Linked DNA regions of Homo sapiens: all the other regions are linked to region 1. The links are contacts of gene promoters, found by promoter capture Hi-C in human tissues and cell types (Jung and others, 2019). All regions are on one chromosome and are shown on one strand. Each heading gives the region's core, a stretch centred on a gene start or on the middle of the fragment in contact. The rest is flanking DNA. Distances are from core to core; before and after follow the strand shown.

Region 1 (2,598 bases), core at 40-2,539:
CGCCAAAAGTGGGTATTCTGAAATATCACTTTCCAACTTCAAGAAACACACTTCCCTACTTGTGAAGGAAATGAATCTTCCTCTCTTTTTCTCAAATTACACAATTGGAAATTTAGATACTCTGGAGCTCCTCCAGCTGGTGGGCCAACTAAGAGAAAACAGGAAGTGGGAGATTCTAGCTTGGCTGGACCATATCCAGGTCTTCATAAGGAACTCTCTTTGGCTGACATGTAAAAAAATTCTTTCAGCAGGAGCATTAATCTTAAACGTGTGTAAACACCAAAGCTATGGTTAACCCTATCTGCCCCTTAGGTCTACAGCCAGTAGAGTCAGATAGCTGGGTCTTAGGCCTTCAGCTTTCATAACTGGCATTATTGTAAGTCCATGCCACTGACTCACCTTTGCTTGGCACAAGTTAGCTTTTCCTCCACGTCGATTTTTTTTTCAGCCTCAACAAAATCCCTTTAATGAAACAGACCTGGCAACCTGAGCTTTGATTACTGTCTCCACCAGAGGCCTTTACAAGCCAAGTTATCCAGGCTTTAAAATGTGTGACCTGAGGCCGGGAGCGGTGGCTTATACCTGTAATCCCAGCACTTTGGGAGGCCAAGGCACGAGGATCGCTTGAGCTCAGCAGTTCAAGCCCAGCCTGGGTTGGTCTTTGAGAAAGCAAGACTCTGTCTCAAAAAAGTGTGGCCTGAAAGCTGAGTGTTTGACAAAAAGGAAAAACAGTGCCTTTCCAAAACCGAAGGTCCCTAACCAAGGAGATCTCTTTAAGGTCTCGAAAAAACGAGGATGGGATGAGAAGGATGTGTAAGTAGTGTCATTTTTTTACTTGCAGAGTTCATCCTAGTCTTCCAGTTTTCGTTTCCTAGCACTCCATGTTCCCAAGACAGTGTCACTACCCCGAGGGCTCTCTCATTTTCTTTGCCTAGGCCCTCATTCCACTGGGGAGTCGTGGCCTTCCATCAGTAGAAGCCGGATGTTCTGACCCACAGACTCTCCAACTCTCCGGCGCTTCTCGCCAACTCGGTCCCTCTGAACATGAAGGGCTCTCTCATCCTGTCACTAAAAAGATTAGCTGTCCCGAAACACGGAAAAAGTCGCCCCTCTTCTTTGCAGGATTCCTCCCTTGAACTTCCCCAAACCCTCTTAGCGTGACGTGACCCCACCCCTAGGTAACCGCAGCTGCTTCCTTACCAGCTTCCCGCCCCCGGGGGGCGCCTGCCGGAGGCCAATGCAAGGACCGTCCGCTACCGGCTCTGCCGCTATCCCTGTGGGGTGAATCTAACATGGCGGATAAAGACAGTAACTAGTCCCCTGTTTCTCCGAGTGTTCGCCAAGATGATTGGCTCTCACCACTTGTCCCTCAAAACGACCACGCCATTGATTGGTGGAGATTGCGTCGATGGGGCGGGGCAGAAGCAACCTGAACCCGAACAACAATAACAAACATTGAGGCTGAGGGGCGGAACTAGGAGTGCGCAGATGTGGGCCAGAGCGGATTTCCCCTTCCCCAGGCAAATTCGGCGCCCACTGCGTCCCCGCAGGCCACTGACCTTAGAGGACTACTTGCCCGAGACTCGTGGGGCTGGATGGGAATCGTAGTCTTCCTAGGAGTTGTAGGTATCTTTTTTTGGCCTAGTCTCTGCTCTCAAGATAGGAGAACATAACAACACTCCAATCCATTACTGTTGACATGTATAAGCCCGCGGAGGTCTCCAATCTATCCACTGGATTTCCGTGAGAATTGTGCCCGCTTTGGTATTGGATGTTCCTCTCCATAAGACTACAGTTTCCAAGGAACAGTGTGGCCAAGGCCTTTCGTTCCGCAATGCATGTTGGAAATAGTAGTTCTTTCCCTCCACCTCCCAACAATCCTTTTATTTACCTAAACTGGAGACCTCCATTAGGGCGGAAAGAGTGGGGTAATGGGACCTCTTCTTAAGACTGCTTTGGACACTATCTTACGCTGATATTCAGGCCTCAGGTGGCGATTCTGACCTTGGTACAGCAATTACTGTGACGTAATAAGCCGCAACTGGAAGCGTAGAGGCGAGAGGGCGGGCGCTTTACGGCGAACTCAGGTAGAATTCTTCCTTTTCCGTCTCTTTCTTTTTATGTCACCAGGGGAGGACTGGGTGGCCAACCCAGAGCCCCGAGAGATGCTAGGCTCTTTCTGTCCCGCCCTTCCTCTGACTGTGTCTTGATTTCCTATTCTGAGAGGCTATTGCTCAGCGGTTTCCGTGGCAACAGTAAAGCGTGGGAATTACAGATAAATTAAAACTGTGGAACCCCTTTCCTCGGCTGCCGCCAAGGTGTTCGGTCCTTCCGAGGAAGCTAAGGCCGCGTTGGGGTGAGACCCTCACTTCATCCGGTGAGTAGCACCGCGTCCGGCAGCCCCAGCCCCACACTCGCCCGCGCTATGGCCTCCGTCTCCCAGCTTGCCTGCATCTACTCTGCCCTCATTCTGCAGGACTATGAGGTGACCTTTACGGAGGATAAGATCAATGCCCTTATTAAAGCAGCCAGTGTAAATATTGAAACTTTTTGGCCTGGCTTGTTTGCAAAGGTCCTGGCCAACGTCAACATTGGGAG
Region 2 (2,598 bases), core at 74-2,573, 500 kb after region 1:
GTGGCTCATGCCTGTAATCCCAGCACTTTGGGAGGCCGAGGCGGGCAGATCACGAGGTCAGGAGATCGAGACCATCCTGACCAACATGGCGAAACCCCATCTCTACTAAAAATACAAATTAGCTGGGGCTGGTGGCGCACACCTATAGTCCCAGCTACTCGGGAAGCTGAGGTAGGAGAATTGCTTGAACCCGGCAGGCGGAGGTTGCAGTGAGCCGAGGCACTTCAGCCTGGCAACAGAGCAAGACTCCGTCTCAACAACAACAACAACAACAACAACAAAAAAAAATGTTAGAAGAGCAGAAAGAACCAAGTATAACTGGCACATAGAAATGAAGGAGAGAAGCCGGCCGCGGTGGCTCACGCCTGTAATCCCAGCACTTTGGGAGGCCGAGATGGGCGGATCATGAGGTCAGGAGATCGAGACCATCTTGGCTAACACGGTGAAACCCTGTTTCTACTAAAAATACAAAAAATTAGCCGGGCGTGTTGGCGGGCGCCTGTAGTCCCAGCTACTCAGGAGGCTGAGGCAGGAGAATGGTGTGAACCCAGGAGGCGGAGCTTGCAGTGAGCTGAGATCGCGCCACTGCACTCCAACCTGGGGGACACAGCGAGACTCCGTCTCAAAAAACAAAAAAGAAATGAAGGAGAGAGTGGTGATAAGGAAGGAAAGGTTGCAGGGCCAGAGCACGTAGGACCCTGGTGGGGAAGCTGGAGCCCTAGAGCCTGGAGAAAGGATGAGAAAAAGAAGAGAACCTGGCAGCCCCTGTTGCACACTGACCTCTGCCCTCTCTTAGGTGGAAGAGATCATGCAGCTGGTGAATGCCTACTTGGCCAACCCCTCCCCCGAGAGGCCCTGCAGCAGCTCTTCTCCTCCATGCCAAGACCTGCCAGACACCTCCCCTCCCAGCCAGCGCCCGGGCCTGGACGAGCCCCAGGGACAGTCTGGCTGCTTGGGGCAGCTGCAGGACTGAGCCTGCCAAGAGGTCACGACTTCCCTCCTGCCTGCAGCCTGGGCCAGGACTGCTCTGAGATTTGAGGGAAACATGGACCCTTTTGGCCCTGCAGGGACAGGGCACATCCCACACCCAAGGGCTACAATGGGTGTGGGTAATTTTCTAGTTTGTTTCTTAATTTATTTGTAGAAGAGAAGCAAAAAAAAAAAAAAAGTTTCTTATTTACACAAACCCTTCCTGTGGGAGTGTTATTCAGTGGGACAAGTTGGAACCCCATAACGCAGAGCCCCGCCTCTGGGGATGCCCACACCCTGGGCTTTTACCAGGCTCTGGGGGAAGTCTGGACACCACAGCGCTTCACCCTCCCCCTCCTTGACCTTCCAGACTTAACCTCCTCCTGGCCAGTGTGCTGCCACAGGTTTGTGGGTGGAGCAGGCAAACAGGCCTCATTGGAAGCTGGCAGTTACTCACCCTCCCTTCTCCACTGAGTGGCATACAGATGGCCTCCTGGAATCCCTGAGGCTGGAGGGCAGTGAGTCATCAGATCTGGCACTGCCCATTTCTTACTCGTTGTCCACCTCTGGGCCCATCATTGGTGTGCCTAATGCTTTGGGCCTAGAATGGAGAGAAGCTTGGGGCAGATAACAAACCCACGAATTTCTCTGGCACAGAAAAGTAACTCAGGATGTGCTCAGCCCTACTCTTGAATTCTGTTTCTACTTATCAGGTTGGGTTGAACTGGATTGAGTTCCTGGAACTCTCATGGCCCTGGGCACTGGGAATCTGGAACCTTGGCTCTCCTGGCCTGCTCAGAATGTAGTGTGCCCTCCTTCAGTAGACCCCACCTCCTCTGCCCTGAGTGGAAGAGGTTGGGGCAACATTGACCCTCACTGGGGCAAAGCTTAGGCGCTGAGGAGACAGCAAACCTCAGTAAAGCTCTGTAATCTTGAGACAAGGGCTGACTCTAGTAATACTAAACAGCCTAGTTCAAGGTGAGGGATGCCAATGGAAACAGTGAACACACTAAGATTTGGACTAAGTGATAAGACGTTGGAGGAGGTGAAGGCCACCCTACTGTCAGATGCCTAGAAACTGGACCCCTTCACCACCCCCCCGTATTCACAGATCAAGCCCTGGCTATACTGACAACCAAGCTTTATTACTTTATTAGAGCTGAACAAGCATATTAAAAGTTAGGGCATGGAAGGGAGGAAGCAGGACCAGCTCACGGGCTGGAGATGAACCAAGAAGGGTTGTCCATGAGGTGAAGCTGGGTCAGAGGGAGCAGGCATGGTCGAGGCTGTGGTTACCATCTAGAAGGAGAAGGAGTAGTGGGGAGGGAAATCACTGCTCCTGGGTGCCCCAGGAAATGTAGTCTGGCTGGGTGGCCGCATGGTACTCATCAATGAGCTCCTGAACAACCTCCCTAGACCTGTCCATCTCATCAAAGTTGTCCTTGAACATGTCCTCCTTACGGAACTGCTCGAGGAAGGCATCCCGCTTCCGCAGCTTGTCAAACTGCTGGCAGGAACTTTCAAAGAGCTGAAAGAGATGAAAATCTCCAAAATGCGAGCCAGGGGGTTAGGAGTGAACTTGGGGAAGATGATGAAGGTGGCCAGTGGAACAGACTCTTCTAAGAAGAA
Region 3 (2,598 bases), core at 27-2,526, 430 kb after region 1:
CTACTTGGGAGGCTGAGGCAGGAGAATCGCTTGAACCCAGGAGGCAGAGATTGCAGTGAGCCGAGATTGCACCATTGCACTCCAGCCTAGGCAACAAGAGTGAAACTGTCTCAAAACAAACAAACAAACAACACGCACAAAAAATCAGCTTATGCGTGTTCGTCAAGAATACCACAGAAGTGATTTTGTGCGCTTCTCATTGCATCATGTTCAGAGGGACCTGGTAAGAATACCTCTCAGCTGGGGGCAATGGCTCATGCCTGTAATCCCAACACTTTGGGAAATCAAGGTGGGAGGATGGCTTGAACCCTGGAGTTCAAGACCAGCCTAGGCAACACAGCAAGACCCTGTCTCCTTAAAAAGAAGAGGGAGGCCGGGCGTGGTGGCTCATGCCGGTAATCTCAGCACTTTGGGAGGCCGAGGTAGGCAGATCACTTGAGGTCAGGAGTTTGACAGCAGCCTGGCCAATACGGTGAAACCCCATCTCTACTAAAAATACAAAAATTAGCCGGGCGTGGTGGCACGAACCTGTATTCCTGGCTACTTGGGAGGCTGAGGCGGGAGAATTGCTTGAGCCCGGGAGGGAGAGGTTGCAGTGAGCCGAGATCGCGCCACGGCACTCCAGCCTGTGTAAGTAACAAAGCGAGACTCCGTCCAGCCTCGCCCCCCGGCAAAAAAAGAAGAAGAAAACAATACCTCTTATCACTAGTGATGCTAACTTTGATCACTTAGTTAAGGTGGTGTCTGACAGATTCTTATCTGTAAAGTTGCTATTTTTTTCCCTTTGTAACTAGCAGGTGTCTTGTGGGGATTTATTTCGATACAAGGCTATAATTTTGATTCTAAGTGACTAGAAAACTATGAACAGAAATAGGGAGATCAGACATAAATAAAGGGCTTAGAACCCATAGACCGGTGTCTGGAGAACTGGTAGGGGTGAAGCATCGGTATGAAGGTGATCTGGGTTGGCTTCAAACGCTGAAGTGAGATGTGGCTTGTCACCAGCGCGTGGGGATGGCAAATCCGCTGAATAGGGTCTTCAGGAAGATATTAGTGGCTCTGCGAAGGTTTCCCCAGAGCCCTTCCCCTCCCCTGCCAGCGCCGCTTTGGAAGCCGTCTGGGAGGCTGCACCCGCCAGGACTCCTGAGTGCGGGGTTTTGGCGGCAAATGACAGTAGTGCGTCCGCGCGGCACGGGTAAGTCAATGCGCACGCGCCGACAGGAGGCGCGGGGCGGGGCACGGCGCAGGGGTGGGGCCGCGGCGCGCATGCGTCCTAGCAGCGGGACCCGCGGCTCGGGATGGAGGGTGAGTGAGTAAACAAGCCTGGGCCGGGCGGTGGGGCCGGGCCTCCTCCCCTCGCCGCCCTGGGCCTGAGGGAGGGAGAGGCGGAGGGATCAGGAAATTGGAAGGAATCCGAGGGACACACTGCCTGCCTGGCCGGGGGTAGCAGGCGCCCCTCCTCATTCCGAGGGTGGGGGAATGGGGGCGACGGGGCGAGAGAGACCCAGGCGAGGACAGCGTCTGGGGCTGCGAGGGCTGTGTGCCCGGGAGGAGGAGCGGCGGGGGCGGGCTCGGGGACGGGGAATCCCGTTGGATGGCGGTGTGGGCCGGTGGGCGGGAGCCCCAGCGCCCAAAGGGCGCGGGAGGGCGGTGGCACCTGCGGGGGCCTTTAGCGAGGTGGACTCTGGGGACCTGGAGCTGTGCTTGGGGAGGGCTAGAGACCGGGGCTGATCTTGCGATGGCTTTCGGGGATGTTGAGGAGGGGTAGCAGTAAAAACAAGGCCGGGACTAGGGTGAGGTGAGTAAGGCTCCCAAGGCACAAAGTGTAAAGGAGCACTGACTCAGGGTCGCGCAAGTGCAGTGAGCGCCTCCTCACGTGCGTCCTGGGTGCCTCGGTCGCCTCACCCCAGGCCTGGCCCTGAGCAAGAATCTCCTTCACTCCAGACTTTTGGTCTCACGCCAATGATCGCTCACCCCCACCATTCAACCGAGGATCAAATGATATAAATAAAAGTGCCTTGAAGCACAGACAAGGTGTTGTATTTGGGACATGCCTGTTAGGAAATGTGGGACAAACTTTTATTTCAATAAAAAGTGACTACTGAGGAATTGTTTCTTGAGCAGGGAAGGGAAGGGATACCTGAAGGATGTTAGTGCCCCCCGTGGAATGTGAAGGAATATGGAGGGTGAAATACAGGGTTGTATGTGATGTAGCCCAGGCCGATAGGAACCTGACGCTTGGCAGGGGAGGATGAAAGCAAAGGAGCTCAGGTACACTAACAATTAGGTGGGTGCAAGGATGGCAATGAAAACGCGAGTCTCCTCCACGTTTGCTGCCATACTGCCGCTGAATAAAAAAATTCCCACACCCCATGTTTTTTAAATTTAGGAAACTGATATTGAAGGAGGTTTCCAGCCTGAGAAGGTGCTAACCCTATTAGAGGTTTCTGTGAAAGCTTGTCTATTTTAAGTCTTGGAATCCCCAGATATGCCACTGATAAAAGAGATTACTTACATAGGAGAGAGTGTGTGTTAGGAGATAAGTACTTTAGACTGGGCTCGGTGGCTCATATCTGAAATCCCAGCATTCGGGAGGCC
Region 4 (2,598 bases), core at 61-2,560, 350 kb after region 1:
CCTAGCAACTACTTAGGAGGCTGAAGTGGAGGATAACTTGAGCCCAGGAGTTTGAGGTTACAGTGTGCTGTGATCACACCTCTGCACTCCAGCTTGGGCAACAGAGTTGAGACCCTGTCTCAAAAAATAAAAACATTATAGATGTCCTTGACCTGAGAGAACCCTCTCTCTAGTGGAGGACACACAGTGTCCATACTAACTGAAGTTGTGGAAATGAAGGATAGAGAAAAGTCCATTTTTTTCACACAGTAGTATAACAAGTTTCACTGGAAGTGGGGTATAGTAACTATTTAAAGGACAGTAAGTGTATAGAAATGAAGCTTTAGAAGGCCAATTATGGCCAGTTCATGGAAGAAGCCACTGTTTTTTTGTTTTTTTTTTTTTTAGAAACAGAGTCTTACTCTGTCATCCAGGCTGGAGTGCAGTGGTGCAGTCATGACTCACTGCGGCCTTGACTTCCTACACCTAAGCAATCCTCCCGCCTCAGCCTCCCAAGTAGCTGGAACTACAGGCGCGCAACACCATACCTGGCTAATTTTTGTATTTTTTATAGAGATGGAGTTTCCCCATGTTGCCCAGGCTGGTCTTGAACTCTTGAGCTCAAGTGATCCACCTGCCTCAGCCTCCCAAAGTGCTGGGTTTACAGGCATAAGCCACCATGGCCAGCTGGAAAAAGCCACTGTTTTTTGTTTTTGATTTTGGTTTTTTTTTGAGACAGAGTCTCACTCTGTTGCCTAGGCTGGAGTGCAGTGGCATGATCTCAGTTGTCTGCAACCTCCACCTCCCAGGTTCAAGCGATTCTCCTACCTCAGCCTCCCAAGTAGCTGGGACTACAGGCGTGCGCCACCACGCCTGGCTAATTTTATTTTTTTAGTAGAGACGGAATTTCACCATGTTGGCCAGGCTGGCATCTAACTCCTGACCTCAGGTGATCTGCCCACCTCAGCCTCCCAAAGTGCTGGGATTACAGGTGTGAGCCACTGCACCCGGCCCAGAAGAAGCAGAAGCCACTCTTTTTTTTTTTTTTTTTTGAGACAGAGTCTCGGCTCTGTTGCCCAGTCTGGAGTACAGTGGTGTGATAGCTCACTGCAACCTCTGCCTCCTGGGTTGAAGCAATTCTGCCACTTCAGCCTCCCAAGTAGCTGGGACTACAGGTGTGCACCACCACGCCTGGCTAATTTTTGTATTTTTAGTAGAGACAGGGTTTCACCACATTGGCCGGACTGCTCTCGAACTCCTGACCTCAAGTTATCCACCCGTCTTGGCCTCCCAAAGTGCTGGGATTACAGGTGTGAGCCACCACGCCTGGCCCCAAGAAGCCACTCCTAACCCATTCACCTCACTTCTGAAAAAGATCAGAAATAAGAGGTTTTTTGCCCTGGTTTGGGAGAATTCTTTTTTCCTCCACCTTTTTGCATATGGGCAGCTGGAATTTGAGACATTTCTGTTCCTTCCAGGCAAAACAGCTAGGACATACATGTTCCTCAGAATGGGATCTATGCCAAATATAAAAGATGCGAGAGCTAGATGTAACGATGATCACTAAAGAATCGTTCATAGTGTGGTGAGAGAGAAACTTTAGCCCCCAAGCTAACAGCCTTCAATGGCCCCCTTGGCTGCTCACAGGTATCAGAGAGAATACAGTGAATTTAAACGACAGCAGCTGGAGCTGGATGATGAGCTGAAGAGTGTTGAAAACCAGATGCGTTATGCCCAGACGCAGCTGGATAAGCTGAAGAAAACCAACGTCTTTAATGCAACCTTCCACATCTGGTAATGAGAGCTAGGGGATGAGGAGCACTGCACATATCTAGACCTTAGCTGTTGACCACTAAGCCTGGGTGCCCACTTCCCACAAAAGAGGGACTGTAGGTTATCTTCACCCAACTAGGTTTCTTTCATTCATAGTGATGGGATAGGCACAGTAGGGATTGGAATTCTAGAGCTTGGTGACATCCGCCCTTCTAAAGAAAGGAAAAGGCCTGAGCCCTTCAGCCACTTAAAAACCTGGTAAGCTGTCTGGTGCTGATTTCTTATCCCCACGGTGTTTGATGTTCCATTAATTTAATAACTGTTGAGTGTCTACTCTGGAAAAGGCACTGTGCTGAGTGCTAGGAGGGCAACAGCAAAACAGTATGCAGTCAACCTTCTAGTTGCATATAATCTGGTGGAAGAGATGGATAAATAACAAGCAGTTGTAATGCAGTGTGATGATGGTAAACCCAGGGTGCTGTGGGAACACATAAGGGCACTTGATCCAGTTTGGGGAGGCCATATGGAGAGTTTCCCCATAGGGGACTTACGTTTAAACTGAGAGGTAAAGTAGAAGTCTGCAGAGAGGGGGTTGTTCCTAGCAGAGAGAACATTATGTGCAAAGAAATGGGAAAGAGGGAGTGGTGAATTCAGAGAACAGAAAGGAGCTTATTGTGACTGAAGATTGAGTGTAAAGGGGAGAGTGGCCGGATATGAAACTGGAGAGTTACCAGTTCCTGAAGGATCTCGTAGGCCTCGTTAAGAGGTTTGGACTTCATCCAAAAGGCAGAGGAGACACTGAAGCATTTTAGCTAGGGAAGTGACGTAATTACACTTGTATTCGTG
Region 5 (2,598 bases), core at 31-2,530, 290 kb after region 1:
AGCACTTTGGGAGGCTAAGGTGGGTAGATCACCTGGGGTCAGGAGTTCGAGACCAGCCTGAACAACATGGTGAAACCCCATCTCCATTAAAAATACAAAAATTAGCTGAGCGTGGTGGCGGGCGCCTGTAATCCCAGCTACTCAATAAGCTGAGGCAGGAGAATCACTTCAACCTGGAGGCGGAGGTTGCAGTGAACCAAGATCGCGCCACTGCATTCCAGCCTGGGTGACAGAGTGAGACTCTGTCTCAAAAACAAAAACAAAAACAAAACAAAACAACAACAAAAACAAAACAATACAAAAAGCCAAAACTATAGGAGAGGAGGGAAGGAGGCGAGGAATTTGCTGACATGGAGTCTCTGCTCTGAAAGTTAGACGTGAAGTCCGTGGCTAGGCTGGTTGCATCAGATGAGGCTGGCTGACATCTCCCAAGATATCTCAAGATGGTTTATTGGTGAATTCACCCCACTCCAAGGGAGAAGCCTGAATCAGAAACCAGATTCCTCAGCTCACCAATGGGAATTGTCTTTCAGGGAAGGTCTATATATACCAAAATTACACCTGAAGGTCAATCTGTTGATTTACTGTAACTGTCAAAGCAAAAGTAATTCTTATTAGAATGTCAATTAGTTCATTTACAAAAAGAGATGTAAGTGATGTGTCCATTTTCTTCCCATCACCATGATGTGGTGGGAAGCTGGCCTGTCGAGCTGGGAATCAGAACCAGCAGTTGGTCACAATATAGCTTCAATAAGGCCCGATGACTCCATGTGCATGGCTAAAGTGCCTCTAGGACAGGACGTGTCCTGGCCCTGGCCAGGTCCTCTGCTCCAAATGTGGCTGATTGTCACTGTCAGGGCAGGCTCTGTGATGCTCTCTTTCTGAGGGAGACGGGGTCTTCTCACTCTGTCGCCCAGGCTGTAGTGCAGTGGCATGATCTTGGCTAACTGCAGCCTCTGCCTCCCAGGCTCAAATGATCCTCCCACCTCAGCCTCCCTAGTAGCTGGGACCACAGGTGCATGTCACCATCCTGGCTAATTTTTTTTTTTTTTTTTGGTATTTTTGTAGAGAGAGGGTTTTGCCATGTTGCCAGGCTGGTCTCGAACTCCTGGACTCAAGTGATCTGCCTGCCTCAGCCTCCCAAAGTGCTGGAATTATAGGTGAGACACTGTGCCTGGCCCCTTTCTGCACCTTCTGATGGACACATTCTTTATGTCTTAGACTCTCTAGTCAGCTTCCTCTTGGGAGGCTTGGAACTGAACTACCATCTCCAGAGTTCTCCCAACCTTGGCTACACAGTAGAATCACCCGGGGAAATTTAAAAGCCAGTCATGTCTGTGGTTTGCCCCCAGAGGCTCTGATCATATCAGGCTGAGGCGCAGTCCGAGTATGTGGAGTTTTACAAGCTTCCCAGGTGATTTCAATGTGCAGTCAAGGTTGAGCACCTTTGTGAAAAGCAGCTCTGCATATTTCTGCCCTTGTCATTTGAGTGATGACTTTGCTCTGAGAGGGTCACTTAATATGGATCAGGTGCCAAGGGTTTCTCAAGCATTACCTTGTTTCATTCTTTTTTTTTTTCTTACAATATTCAGATGAGTCTGATACCTTGTTTAATTCTTCAAACAGGCCTACCAGGCAGTGGAAAAAGAGCCACGGCCCAGGGAAGGCCGTGAGGTGTAATTCTGCAAAGATCTGGGTTCACTCCCAGCCCCACCTTTTACCAGCCAGATGACTGTGGGCATGTTTCCTAATCTCTCTGAATTGTAGTTTCTGCATCTGTGAAATGGGTGTAATTAACATCTGCCTTTCAAGGTTGTTATGCGGATTAAGTGAAACAAAGATGGAAATTATCTGGCCCAGAGTATTCTGTCCTGTACTGGCTTTTCCTTCTCAATAGGAGAATTGGGAGTGACAGACATCACATTCCTTGGAGGTCCTCGAGAAAGGGAGAATTCCCCATCATATTCTGACCCGGAGATGTAAAGTTAAGAGGCATAAGGGGCTGGGTACTGTGGCTCATGCTTGTAATCCTAGCACTTTGGGAGGCCAAGGCAGATGGAATGCCTGAGCTCAGGAGTTTGAGACCAGCCTGGGCAACATGGCGAAACCCCATTTCTACTAAAAATACAAAAATTTGCTGGGGATGGTGGTGCGTGCCTGTAGTCCCAGCCATTTGGGAGGCTGAGGCTCAAGAATCGCTTAAGCCCGGGAAGCAGAGGTTGCAATGAGCCGAGATCATGGCACTTGCACTCCAACCTGGGCAACAGAGCAAAACTCCGTCTCAAAAAAAAAAAAAGTGGTATAAGAGACATGCAGCATGGAGGTGTTTGAGACCCGGGCCCTACTGAGAATGCTACAGCCTCTTTCCCTTCATATGATGAGGTTTCTGTGGCAGCTACAGGGAAGCTGGGGCCAGAGGGTCTGAGAGAAGAAGCAACAGCCTCTGAGAGGGAGATGAGGGGCAGATGGAGGGCCTCGGGCCAGCTCCCACTTCCAAGAACCATCAGAGAGGTTTTCTTGTTCCAGCAGCATCTCCCCTGGGCCAAGCCAGTCGGGGGGCCATGTCTGTCTGTCTGGGACCCACTGTCTCCCCCGCCA

Evidence for each region. Contacts are between HindIII fragments. The study calls those that stand out against the background at their distance.
Region 2: a contact is called between a fragment that was not itself captured here and the fragment with the promoter of NBR1 in region 1, in 1 of the 25 tissues and cell types used here (hippocampus).
Region 3: the fragment with the promoter of EZH1 here is called in contact with the fragment with the promoter of NBR1 in region 1 in 2 of the 25 tissues and cell types used here (heart left ventricle and liver).
Region 4: a fragment that was not itself captured here is called in contact with the fragment with the promoter of NBR1 in region 1 in 1 of the 25 tissues and cell types used here (dorsolateral prefrontal cortex).
Region 5: a contact is called between a fragment that was not itself captured here and the fragment with the promoter of NBR1 in region 1, in 2 of the 25 tissues and cell types used here (liver and mesendoderm cells).

Annotation. Positions count from the first base shown.
Region 1 is chr17:43,169,905-43,172,502 of GRCh38, reverse strand. It overlaps NBR1 (NBR1 autophagy cargo receptor), which reads right to left and starts at 1,289. Exons shown (of 21, transcript NM_005899.5): 1 at 1,201-1,289. LOC101929767 (a long non-coding RNA gene) reads left to right here and starts at 2,100. Exons shown (of 2, transcript NR_110868.1): 1 at 2,100-2,377. LOC124900391 (a long non-coding RNA gene) reads left to right here and starts at 1,539. Exons shown (of 2, transcript XR_007065760.1): 1 at 1,539-2,087. It also overlaps a transcript of BRCA1 not described here and the pseudogene BRCA1P1. RefSeq lists enhancers at 1,149-1,258, 1,579-1,688, 1,939-1,988, 2,259-2,468. The HindIII fragment of the contact is 14,047 bases long and covers 1-2,598 here.
Region 2 is chr17:42,666,502-42,669,099 of GRCh38, reverse strand. It overlaps TUBG2 (tubulin gamma 2), which reads right to left. Exons shown (of 11, transcript NM_016437.3): 11 at 2,094-2,497. The coding sequence ends at 2,300. It overlaps PLEKHH3 (pleckstrin homology, MyTH4 and FERM domain containing H3), which reads left to right. Exons shown (of 13, transcript NM_024927.5): 13 at 797-1,186. The coding sequence ends at 973. Among named protein-coding and RNA genes, the nearest start is that of TUBG2, 8.5 kb to the right of the region's middle. RefSeq lists an enhancer at 295-870. The HindIII fragment of the contact is 5,317 bases long and covers 1-2,598 here.
Region 3 is chr17:42,743,718-42,746,315 of GRCh38, reverse strand. EZH1 (enhancer of zeste 1 polycomb repressive complex 2 subunit) reads left to right here and starts at 1,276. Exons shown (of 21, transcript NM_001991.5): 1 at 1,276-1,305. RefSeq lists a silencer at 1,119-1,698. The HindIII fragment of the contact is 12,026 bases long and covers 1-2,598 here.
Region 4 is chr17:42,815,083-42,817,680 of GRCh38, reverse strand. BECN1 (beclin 1) reads left to right here. Exons shown (of 12, transcript NM_001313998.2): 8 at 1,627-1,773. Among named protein-coding and RNA genes, the nearest start is that of MIR6781, 7.6 kb to the left of the region's middle. The HindIII fragment of the contact is 7,607 bases long and covers 1-2,598 here.
Region 5 is chr17:42,883,157-42,885,754 of GRCh38, reverse strand. It overlaps LINC00671 (long intergenic non-protein coding RNA 671), which reads left to right. Exons shown (of 6, transcript NR_027254.1): 3 at 1,069-1,160. Among named protein-coding and RNA genes, the nearest start is that of LINC00671, 14 kb to the left of the region's middle. The HindIII fragment of the contact is 4,241 bases long and covers 1-2,598 here.